2 separate regions of the Homo sapiens genome follow, and region 2 is linked to region 1. The links are contacts of gene promoters, found by promoter capture Hi-C in blood cells and fetal thymus (Javierre and others, 2016). All regions are on one chromosome and are shown on one strand. Each heading gives the region's core, a stretch centred on a gene start or on the middle of the fragment in contact. The rest is flanking DNA. Distances are from core to core; before and after follow the strand shown.

Region 1 (5,954 bases), core at 290-2,789:
CTTGCAGAACACATCACATCACTTGGGCAAGTGTGAGCACTTAAGACAATTACAATGCTTCTTTTAAGTCACTGAGACCTGGTAACCAAACTAAGAAGAAGCAAGCTCCCAAAAGTTGAACTGGCTTCTCTCAGATTTGTTTGCTTCCACGACAATAACATTTTTATTTTTGAAGCCCCAAATCATTACTGATTTAGTGATTATAACACATTTTCTTTCTTATGAAAATGATCGGTAAAACATAGAATGGTGAGACAATCTATATTTAGAGCTGAATGGAAAAAGACTTATAAAACAGACCAGCCTACTTGTCAATCATAATATGGAATATGATCATAACATTAGTCATAATATGTCTCTTTAATTTCTTTCTACCTTGCTTATTTTCTTTCAACATGTTGTTCTCAATACCTCGACTGACTTCTTACAATGTTTGCATTGAGAATTGTTCTAAGAAATTAAGAACTTAGATATATTTTATACACATTTGAAAATACTTCTACCTAGCATTCTTGTATGTAAACTTTAGAGACAAATTCTAAATGCATCAGCTGAGAAGGTGGGGAAAAGTTGTGAATATTCTCAATGGCTAACAGCATCACCCAACCTGAGACCCCATGTTTTTGCTGAAACCAGCTAGGACAAACGCTTCTAAATCTCCCTTCATAGCTGCAGAAAAAGTAAATGAATTACACTAATGTCCATGGGACCAATGATTCGTGAAAGAATAAAATGGAAAACGAAGCAGTTATTTTGTCCCTTCTGACCAACATGCACATGCTTGTGTGTATATATACCAATAGTATTTATTGGGAGGAAATCTCTAGTTCTAAAGCAGCTCGTGTAAACAGGCTTCATTTATCTGTTCATTCGAGTTTGCTCTGCCCTGGTCCCACAGGTTGGGTGCAGCGTTCCTGGGACGCCCTGGCTCGCCCCATCTACTCAGCTTCCCAAATGCCCGCAAGCCCAGTTCACGCCTGGAAGTCTACCCCTCGCGTCGTCAGCTTAAAGCCCTCCTTAATGAGGACCGTCTTTAATTTAATTTAATCCTTGTATTTCATACTTTTTGTATATCAGAAAGGATTTCTTTTTGGAAAGAAACAGTAGCTCAAGACGCGATTTTTCAAGGTTCTGTGGCCAGTCTCAGTCACTCGGCAACATCTGAGCCAAGGCAGAGCCAGGTTCACTTAAATTCGGGACTCCGAAGTGTGGAGACCAATACCCCTTAAAAGCGTCCCCTGGGGCCGAGGCGGGTGTGGGGAGGGGCCGCCACCGTCCACCTGCGCCTTCAGGCTGCGGTGAGGTGGCAGAGTCCGGAGGCATTTCCCGACCCCAGAGGAGCCTCCAAGAGTCTCGCGGCACGGGCGCGAACACCAGGATGCGGAGGGCGCTTCTTACCTTTCGAGACTGACGGGCAGCAACCCCAGGCCGTCCGGGCGCGTGGCGAGGCGGACGGGAAGGCTCAGGGGCGGCGAGGTAGAGCGCCAAGCATCCCGCGTCCCAGACTGCACGCCCTGACCCCGCGGCGTTCGGCTCCCACAGCCCCGCGGGGCCCGCCCCCGACGGCGTGGGGAGGGCGGGCGCCGGGAGGGCGGGGGGCACACGGGACCGGGCGTGGTCGGTTCCCGCCCCTTCTGGGCAGCGCATCCTTTCCTGCCGGTCCCCAGCTCGCCAGCTGCTGGACAGGAAACAGGCAGGAAACGCGCGGCCAGCCAAGGTCCTGCGGGAGGGGGTGCGGCCCCGGCAGACGCAGGTCCCCTCAACACACACCCGCATCCACAGCACACAGCCGGACCAGGGGTTTAACGAAGGACGAGCGAGCAATCTCCTGACACTTCACATTCAATCACTTCTACTCTAGTGTCATTTTCTTCAGGGAGACCACAAAAATAAGTCCTTGAAGCGGCACAGCATGTGGGCTGTAAACTTGCTTTCCCAAATGTCACTGAAGAGTTTCAAAAGAACATAGTTCAGGTAAAGTGCATCTCCATTTTCTTTCCCTGGGGTCAGAATTGGTATTAAAAATAACTAAACATTTTAAAAACTCTACTCTGCAAGTGTTAAAGTTCTTTTTATAGGAATGTGAATTAGTTCAGCCACTGTGGAAAGCAGTTTGGAGATTTCTCAACTAAAAACAGAAAGATCATTCGACCCAGCAATCCCATTACTGGGTGTATGCCCAAAGGAAAATAAATCATTCTGCCAAAAAGACACCCGCACTATGTTTATCACAGTACTATTTACAATAGCAAAGACATGGAATCAACCTAGGTGCCCATCAACAGTAGACTGGGTAAAGAAAATGTGGTACATACACACCACGAAATACTAAACAGCCATAAAAAAAGAACAAAATCACGTCCTCTGTAGCAACATGGATGCAGTTGGAGGACATTATCCTAAGTGAATTAACATAGGAACAGAAAACCAAACACCGAATGTTCTCACTTATAAGTGGGAGCTTAAACAACGGGTACTCATGGACATAAAGATGGCAACAACAAACACTGGAGACTCCAAGTCAAGGGAGGGAGAGAAAGGGGCAAGGGCTGAAAAACATCCTATTGGGTACTGTGTCCGGAATTGGTGGGTTCTTGGTCTTTCTGACTTCAAGAATAAAGCTGCGGACCCTCGCGGTGAGTGTTACAGTTCTTAAAGGCGGCCTGTCCGGAGTTTGTTCCTTCTGATGTTCGGATGTGTTCAGAGTTTCTTCCTTCTGGTGGGTTCGTGGTCTCGCTGGTTCAGGAGTGAAGCTGCGGACCTTCGCCATGAGTGTTACAGCTTTTAAGGCGGCGCGTCTGGAGTTGTTCGTTCCTCCCAGTGTGTCCGTAGTCTCGCTGGCTTCAGAAGTGAAGCTGCAGACCTTCGCAGTGAGTGTTACAGCTCATAAAGGCAGTGTGGACCCAAAGAGTGAGCAGCAGCAAGATTTATTGCAAAGAGCCAAGGAACAAAGCTCCCACGCTTTGCAAGGGAACCCCAGCGGGTTGCCACTGCCGGCGCGTGCAGCCTGCTTTTATTCTCTTATCTGGCCCCACCCACATCCTGCTGATTGGTTCATTTTACAGAGAGCGGAGTGGTCTGTTTTGACAGGGCGCTGATTGGTGCATTTACAATCCCTGAGCTAGACACAAAGGTTCTCCACGTCCCCACTACATTAGCTAGATACAGAGTGTCCACACAAAGGTTCTCCAAGTCCCCACAAGAGTAGCTAGATACAGTGTCCATTGGTGCATTCACAAACCCTGAGCTAGACACAGGGTGCTGATTGGTGTGTTTACAAACCTTGAGCCAGATAGAGTGCCGACTGGTGTATTTACAATCCCTTAGCTAGCCATAAAGGTTCTCCAAGTGCCCACCAGTGAGGAGCCTAGCTGGCTTCACCCAGTGGATCCCGCACCGGGGCTGCAAGTGGAGCTGCCTGCCAGTCCCGCGCCCTGTGCCCGCACTCCTCAGCCCTTGGGTGGTCGATGGGACTGGGCGCTGTGGAGCAGGGGGTGGTGCTCGTCAGGGAGCTCGGGCCTCACAGGAGCCCATGGAAGGTGGGGGAGGCTCAGGCATGGCGGGCTGCAGGTCCCGAGCCCTGCCCTGCTCAGGGAGGCAGCTAAGGCCCTGCGAGAAATTGAGCGCAGCGCCGGTGGGCCGGCACTGCTGGGGGACCCAGCACACCTTCTGCAGCTGCTGGCCCAGGTGCTAAGCCCCTCATTGCCCGGGGCCGGCAGGGCCCACCGGCCGCTCCGAGTGCGGGCCCGCCGAGCCCACACCCACCCGGAACTCGTGCTGGCCCGCAAGCACCGTGCGCAGCCCCGGTTCCCGCCAGCGCCTCTCCCTCCACACCTCCCCGCAAGCTGAGGGAGCCAGCTCCAGCCTCAGCCAGCCCAGCCCAGGAAGGGGCTCCCACAGTGCAGCAGCGGGCTGAAGAGCTCCTTAAGTGCCGCCAAAGTGGGAGCCCAGGCAGAGGAGGTGCTGAGAGCCAGCGAGGGCTGTGAGGGCTGCCAGCACGCTGTCACCTCTCAGTACTATGTTCATTATCTAGGTGACAGGATCAATAGAAGCCCAAACCTCAGCAACATGCAATTACCCTTGTAACAAACCTGCATATGCACCCCCAAATCTAAAACTAAAATTTAAAAAAGAGTTTTAAGTTTTTGGGAATATATGAGAGGATAGATTCCACCTTAACAGCTGTGCTTGTTAAATTGAGTAACTATGCAGTATGGTTTAACACTTGCTTTTCTTTTATGCAGAATATACCATTTGACAGCAAAACTAATATCCGGTATGCAGAATATACCATTTGACAGCAAAACTAATATCTGGTAATGGAAATCAAAGCACAGTGGTGGCCTTTGGAGAGCGATGACAGGAAAGAGGCACCAGGAAACTTTTAGGGGGCGACAGATATGTTCTACTGTTTGGAGTGTGAGTTACATGGATTTACTAAGCATTTGTTAAAACTTGTCTGACTGAAGATCTGTGCATTACAGTTTGTAAACTGTACCTCATTTAAAAAAAAATTTTTAAATATGTGATTTGCAGGTCTTTGACTCTATCACTTCATTTTTAAAAAGGTAGCACAAGTATTTACTTATATGTTACCAGAGGTATAAAATTTTCTAAGAACTTATATTGTCAGCCAGGTGCAGTGGCTCATGGCTGTAATCACAACAATTTGGGAAACCAAGGCAGGAGGTTTGCATGAGCCCAGTACTTTTAGACCAGCCTGGGCAAAACAGCAAGACTCCATCGCCACAATAAATAAGAAATTATTTGGGAGGCCAAGGCAGGTGGATCGCTTGAGCTCAAGAGTTCAAGACCAGCCTGGGCATCATGGCAAAACCCTGTCTCTACCAAAAATAGAATGTACTAGCCGGCTGTGATGGCACGTGCCTGTGGTCCCAGCTACTTGGGAGGCTGAGGCAGGAGGATCACTTGAACCCAGGTGGAGGCTTCAGTGAGCCAAGATGATGCCACTGCACAGGCTGGGTAAGACCCCGTCTCAAAAAATAAAATAAATAAAAAATTAGCCAGGTGTGGTGGCATGTACCTGTTGTCCCAGCTACTCTGGAGGCTGAGGTGGGAGAATTACTTGAGCCCGAGAGGTTGGGGCTACAGAGAACAGTGATCACGCCACTGCACTCCAGCCTACATGACAGAGTGAGACCAACCAATCTTGTCAAATAGTTACTTCTAGCAATACTAATTAAATCCATCCAAAGTTTCAAAGAAGACTTTAAGGTGATCATCCAATTTCACTGCCAGTAGAATTATCTAGTCTAATTTCCATTCACCAATTTACACTAGGATTCTTTTTCAAATACATACCACCCACTCCCTGGCATTTCAGTTTTAAAAGCAAAAGCTCAGTGGAAAGAGCAGGCATTGGAGTTACAAAAGTACAAAAATTATCTGGTGTGGTGGTGTGCACCTGTAGTTCCAGCCATCAGGAGGCTGAGGCGGGAGGACTGCTTGAGCCCAGAAGGCAGAGGTTGCAGTGAGCCGAGATTGTGCCACTGCGCTCCAGCCTGGGCAATAGAACCAGACCCTGTCTGAAAAAAAAAAAAAATTATATGGGGGTATAAGGAACCCAGAACAGGATAAAACAATCTTGAAAATGAAGAGCGTATTTGGAGGACTCACACTTTCCAATTTCAGAACTTACTACAGGCTGGTTCATGCCTGTAATCCCAGCACTTTGGGAAGCCAAGGCAGACGGATCACTTGAGGTCAGGAGTTTGAGACCAGCCTGACCAACAGCGAAACCCCATCTCTACTAAAAAAAAAAAAAAAAAAAAAAAATTAGCTGGGGATGGTGGCACACACCTGTAGTCCCAGCTACTCAGGAGGCTGAGGCAGGAGAATTGCTTGAACCCGGGAGGCGGAGGTTGCAGTGAGCCGAGAATGTGCCACTGCACTCCAGCCTGGGTGACAGAGTGAGAGTCGGTCTCAAAAAAAAA
Region 2 (6,193 bases), core at 2,693-5,192, 540 kb before region 1:
GTCCTGTCATCCCTCATGGCCACCCCGCCATTCCGGCTGATAAGGAAGATGTTTTCCTTCAAGGTGAGCAGATGGATGGGGCTTGCCTGCTTCCGGTCCCTGGCGGCATCCTCTCCCAGTATTCGCCAGAAGAAACTAATGCACAAGCTGCAGGAGGAAAAGGCTTTTCGCGAAGAGATGAAAATTTTTCGTGAAAAAATAGAGGACTTCAGGGAAGAGATGTGGACTTTCCGAGGCAAGATCCATGCTTTCCGGGGCCAGATCCTGGGTTTTTGGGAAGAGGAGAGACCTTTCTGGGAAGAGGAGAAAACCTTCTGGAAAGAGGAAAAATCCTTCTGGGAAATGGAAAAGTCTTTCAGGGAGGAAGAGAAAACTTTCTGGAAAAAGTACCGCACTTTCTGGAAGGAGGATAAGGCCTTCTGGAAAGAGGACAATGCCTTATGGGAAAGAGACCGGAACCTTCTTCAGGAGGACAAGGCCCTGTGGGAGGAAGAAAAGGCCCTGTGGGTAGAGGAAAGAGCCCTCCTTGAGGGGGAGAAAGCCCTGTGGGAAGATAAAACGTCCCTCTGGGAGGAAGAGAATGCCCTCTGGGAGGAAGAGAGGGCCTTCTGGATGGAGAACAATGGCCACATTGCCGGAGAGCAGATGCTCGAAGATGGGCCCCACAACGCCAACAGAGGGCAGCGCTTGCTGGCCTTCTCCCGAGGCAGGGCGTAGCCAGCATGCAGGTGCAGGGCCCTGTGGTCCAGACTCCCCTGGGTTGGGATTCAAGTCCAGGGTGAGCCCATGTGCTGGAGAAAATACACACTCATTGGTCTCCTTGCTTTGAAAGATCCAATAAAGTCCTGAGGCAAGGTTTGGAAAACCAACTTATTTGAGGAAGGCTGGCTGCATTTTTTCCAGGTTTTGTGATGATCCAAGGTCATGTTCCCACCTCTGGGCCACAGAGATCGGTCCCAGGCAGCTCCCAGTGACCCCAGCCTGTGCGGGTGTTTGGAAGTGGAGACGCTTTGGCTCTCTTTAAGAGTCAAAATGGGGAGGAGAGGCTCGGGCCATGCCAGCTAGAGACACACAGGGACAGAGAGGAGCTGAGATGCCGCTGTCTCCGCCACGCTGTGGGGAGGTCACTTCTCCTTCACTTGGGGCAGTCTTGGAGGCCTGGAGAGGGCTGGCAGCATTCCAGTAAAGGCCTCTGTGCTGTTAATTCTTCATTTGTGCCTCTTCCTCCTCTGGTAGGGCATGTGGAGGACACAGGCAGAATCCCTGTACGACCCACTCACTGGTAGTTCCGAGTTCCACCAAACGTCTCAGCTGCCCTACTCAGGCAGCGTGAGAATGGGGCCTTGGCGTGGGGGCTGAGACTCAAGAGTGCGGCCCCCAAGAGCACTGACGCCCCTGATGAGGGAGTCAAGTTGACCCATGGAGTGGCCTGGGCAATGCATGGGCATGCTCCCTGTCCCTGCCCTCACATATTCCCACTCACATAAGTCTCATGGTCCCTGTGTTTCTGTATTATACATTCTTTTTGGGGGGCTTCCTGCTTTCATCTATTTTAAAATTAAAATACCCTAGGGAGTAGTACATTGAATGAATGTACATGAATGTGGTCAAGCAACTTATGTGCCCAACTTTTCTTCTGGGGGTGGGGAGATTAGATGGCCTTTATAGGGAATGCCACACAAATGACCAGAGTGAGGGAGTAAGGGAGTAAGAAACGCCACGACAAATGTGTCCTGCTCCCCCTTTCCTTAGGCCTGGCCTTCACTGTCATTAACACATCAACTTACCTCACCGTAGTGGGTCCCCTACTACTAGACAAGCACTTTCTCATGCACCTCCTCATGTGACCTTCACCACAGCTCTGTGGGCTGGCAGGGAAGGTGCATAAACCCATTGTACAGATGAGGAAACAGAGACCTAAAGAAGCAATGTGAGTGCATGTGGTTCAGCAAGTAGCAAATAGGAGGGCCAGGACCAAAACCCACAGTGTCTGTCTCTTGGTATTGTGGCCCTTTCCTAATACAGCCCTGGGTCACGGGAAGTGACTTGGCTGATAGTGGTGTCAATACTGGGAGAGCCTTAAAGTACACTAGGATTTCACAGTGGCTTGGGGGTGGAGAGCTAGGGAGAGGAGAGGACAGGGATCTTTACAAAGTCAAGGGTGAACAAATACCCTTGGTGCCAGGAGAGTGGGCCGACTCCCAGGAGCAGCCAGGCCTCTGAGGCTTCAGAAGATTGTGGGAAAGCCTGGGTTACTGCATGGCCAATGGAAAAATTGGCGCTGGGAAAGTCTGGGTTCCCTGCAAGTCCTCTGATTCTCAGAGGAAGCAGGGTCAGAGAGCAGTGGGAGCAGCTTTCTCCTTGGTCACACACCCATCCTCAGCTCTCCATGGGTCCCAGGGCAAGGACTTCAGCAAGCCATGGGGAATAGGATGCAGGGTGGAGAGAATTCGATTTCAAGAGGGCTGCCAGGGGCCCACACTCAAGACCTGGACGGTGTGGGCCATTGGATGGTATTCACACTGCAGGAACCCCAGTGCAGAGAAAAGCTGCAGATTCAAAAATCCCCAGAGATTCTGCCAAAGACAAAATTCAGGATGAAGGGAGATGAAAAGTGTACTCTAGACCTCCACAATTGCAGACTCCTTTTATCTGCTGTGGAAAGGAAGTTCTCAAAGCTTGTTTAGCACCTGGGTGAACTCAACCTTTCTTCTTGTTCCCTGCCATCCAACAAGAAGGTGTGCAGCCAGCATCCCTTTGCTACATAAATCATTTAATTCATCATCCACTTATGTATTTATTCATCACCACTGTGCCTTGCCAACACTATGCTATGTTTGGGAACGAGCTAATTCTTGCCTACGGGAAGCTTTCCGTCCAGTGCGGGAGAGTCACACAATCACAATGTCATTATTTGGAAAATCTGGCAAATGCTAGGAGGGAAGAGGCCCATGGGGCTGCCTCTCTGAGAGAGCACTACAGCAGTGCATGTCACTCGAGTGTGCTTTAAACGCTATGCAAAGATGCACAGAGATGAATGAAACCGAGTTTTAGCCAAAAGGAAACCTAAGGATAAGTAAGCTGTGTACAACTAATATCTGGGAATCACCTGACCTTCAGCATTGTTTCACAGATAGAGTGCAGATAACATTCACAGAAACATCTCCTAACTTCTGGGCTTTTATTAATACTGTTAGCACAAATGCAGATAGATTTCTCCACAACCTCAGCAGCAGCCAAAGCTGGCTTCCCTTAGCCAGCACCTGTGACAGCAAGGCTGAACTCCTGAGAGAGTTCCTGGGTCTTTCGTAAGACAAAGCACAGGCAAATATCTATGGAGTGGCTCAGTCTCCCTGCTTTGAGCTCCTGGCAGGGAGAAATGTCATTTATGGTGTTTCAGAGTCCTGCTCATTTAGCTGAGTTCCAGACTCGAAATGAATCATCTTTTATTCCAAAATCATAATGCAGATACTAGAAGATTCAGAGGCGCCAGAAACAGCATCTATTGTCATAACTGTTGTTTCACCACTAAATTCATCTTCCCCGCAAAGCCTGAGCTGTGCCTCCACCCAGAAGTGCTTACCCAAATTACCCAAAGCTGCCAGAAGGGAAAGGAAATATTTTTGAAATGCAGTGGGTTCTCCAGTGTCTTCTCTGGTTTAAACCATCTGTGGTTTATCTCCAGGAAAGGGGCTACTCACCCAACCCCTCTCCACCTTGCCATCCCTAGACTCATGCAAGAGTTTAGATAGAGAAGGCATCCCACTGGCTGTCTAGTTGAACCCCCTTATTTTGTAGATGAAGGAACAATGCTCAGTGAAGAGACTTTGGCTGTGGTAAGGAGTGGAGCTGTGTCATGATCAAGGTCTGACTCTAGTTCATCTATTGCTCTCTCCATCCTCACATTATTAACCTCAACAAAGCTATTCCTCATTGCCCCGAGGAGGGTGGACCATGTCCTAAGTTCTTATGTGCCAGCATTAGACGTCGTGCTATCAAGAATTATCTTGTCCCTTTAAACGGTATCAATGGGGCTAGCTCCACCCTTGTCCCTAAATTAAAACTCGAGTAGACACCATGGATTCTTCCAGTCACTTTAAGTTAAAAAACCCAGTCCCAATTCAGTAATTTTTTTTTTTTTTTTGAGATGGAGTCTCGCCCTGTCGCCCAGGCTGGAGTGCAGTGGCACGATCTCGGCTCACTGCAACCTCTGCTTCCAGAGTTCAAGGGATTCTCCTGCCTCAGCCTCCTGAGTAGCTGGGATTACAGGCACCTGCCGCCATGCCCGGCTAATTTTTGTATTTTTAGTAGAGACGGGGTTTCGCCATGTTGTCCAGGCTGGTCTCCAACTCCTGACCTCGTGATCCGCCCACCTCAGCCTCCCAAAGTGCTGGGATTACAGGTGTAAGCCACCGCGCCTGGCCTCAATTCAGTAATTAAGATGTTCCATTCCCATGTAATAAAGCTCTGGACCCTCAAGTACGCTCTGCAGGAATCAGAAATCCTGCAGTCGAAGAGGGATGAATACTTCTCCTTTTTCTCTCCTGGTTGTGCTCATGTAGGTTCGGATCCTTCCGAGGTAGAAGTAGAGGGGACGGAGAAGCAGGATAGTTCTTCCATGACTGATCCTATTCAAGAGGTCTAGCTTTGACCCTCTCTGGATTCGACAGCTGTTTAAAGCTGCTGCTTCTTAGTCTTTATGGTGGCTTTTGTGGTTCCTTGGTTACCCCTTTCCCTGTGAAAGTCGTTGATGCCAAGGTGAAGTCACTTACATCAGGCCTAAGCAAAGTGGAGCCGAGGGGGTCATGAAGGAGGGGATCTCACACTCAAACAGCATGACAGTGCTGTTGTGGTTGGATAATATTTTGAAATATATAAAAGTTCTTTGGTTTTTTTTGTGTGTGTGACTATCTATTTAACCAGAGCCATCCATTTTATTAGGATAAATTAAAAATACACATAGAAAGGGTCTTTATTCAGTTTTTGGCTTTTAAAATAGGTTCTTGGCCCATTTCAGAAGCTTTATGAGAGGAGGAAAAAAGAAAAAACAAAGAATAATTTTCAAATTAAAGGGCAAAGCCCAGAAGAAATGAGAATGAAAGAGAAGAGGAGGGGATGTCCAGTTAAAGATAACAAAGCAAATGCATGCACTGGCTTCTACTCCCTCAAGTCCCGATAAAACACAGAGAAGGGGTTGTTTTTAAAAATCAGAAATCCACAAGAACAAAAAGAATCAGAAAGAAACCAATAGCAACACAATTTTGAAAGCAGAAAAGCTGAGGAATGAGTGGAAACGGAATTAGCAAAAATAATAAATCTGAATTCTAAGCTGGCAGTGGGGAAAGCCAAGAACCAACCCAACTTATACTACAGAGCCACCTCCCTCTCACCAAGGCTGGAAAATTAGCAGGCCAGGTGCTTCCTGAAGCACGGGGATAGATGGAGCCAAGGACAGGAAGACTACGTTTTCAAGAAGCAAACTCTTAGATTCTCTCCCCTACAAACTGCTCCTCCATTTTGTAGAAGACAGGAGGTTTATTCTTTGGGGAGGACAAAACTCAGGGTCCTTAAACTGCAGATATCAGATATTGCAGAAGATGGTGGTATCTCACAAAAAACTGGCAAAAAATAAAATTGTACATTATGTGTTGAGACCTTCCTCCTCCCCAACTCCCGCCTGGCCCCCTCCCCACCATAGGAGCCAACCTCCCAGATGACTCCTAGTGATTCTCCCCCTCTGGTATGCATACCCTTGGACCATCCCCACCCACACTGAGTAGGGCTGATCTGTGTGACCAATGGAATAATAAGAAAAATGCAGAGTATGACTTTTTTTTTTTTTTTTGAGATGGAGTCTCGCTCTGTTGCCCAGGCTGGAGTGCAGTGGCGCAATCTCGGCTCACTGCAAGCTCCACCTCCTGAGTTCACACCATTCTCCTGCCTCAGCCTCCCGAGTAGCTGGGACTACAGGTGCCCGCCACCACACCCAGCTAATTTTTTGTATTTTTAGTAGAGACAGGGTTTCACCATGTTAGCCAGGATGACAGAGTATGACTTCTAAGGCTAGATCATAAAAGACACTGTGGCTTCTGCCTTGCTCTCTCTTGAATCACTTGCTCTGGAGGAAGGCAGCTGCCATGTCACAAGGACACATAGGGAGCAAATGAAGCCTCCTGCCAATAACTAGCATCCC

The links. The method cuts DNA at HindIII sites, captures the fragments that hold promoters and counts their contacts. A CHiCAGO score of 5 or more calls a contact.
Region 2: a fragment that was not itself captured here is called in contact with the fragment with the promoter of THSD1 in region 1 in 1 of 17 cell types (M2 macrophages); the score reaches 6.2 in M2 macrophages.

Annotation. Positions count from the first base shown.
Region 1 is chr13:52,404,633-52,410,586 of GRCh38, forward strand. It overlaps THSD1 (thrombospondin type 1 domain containing 1), which reads right to left and starts at 1,540. Exons shown (of 5, transcript NM_018676.4): 1 at 1,399-1,540. RefSeq lists a silencer at 1,470-1,629. The HindIII fragment of the contact is 11,042 bases long and covers 1-5,954 here.
Region 2 is chr13:51,865,364-51,871,556 of GRCh38, forward strand. CCDC70 (coiled-coil domain containing 70) reads left to right here. Exons shown (of 2, transcript NM_031290.4): 2 at 1-869. The coding sequence starts at 49. The coding sequence ends at 717. It also overlaps a transcript of TMEM272 not described here. Among named protein-coding and RNA genes, the nearest start is that of CCDC70, 6.5 kb to the left of the region's middle. The HindIII fragment of the contact is 2,151 bases long and covers 2,868-5,018 here.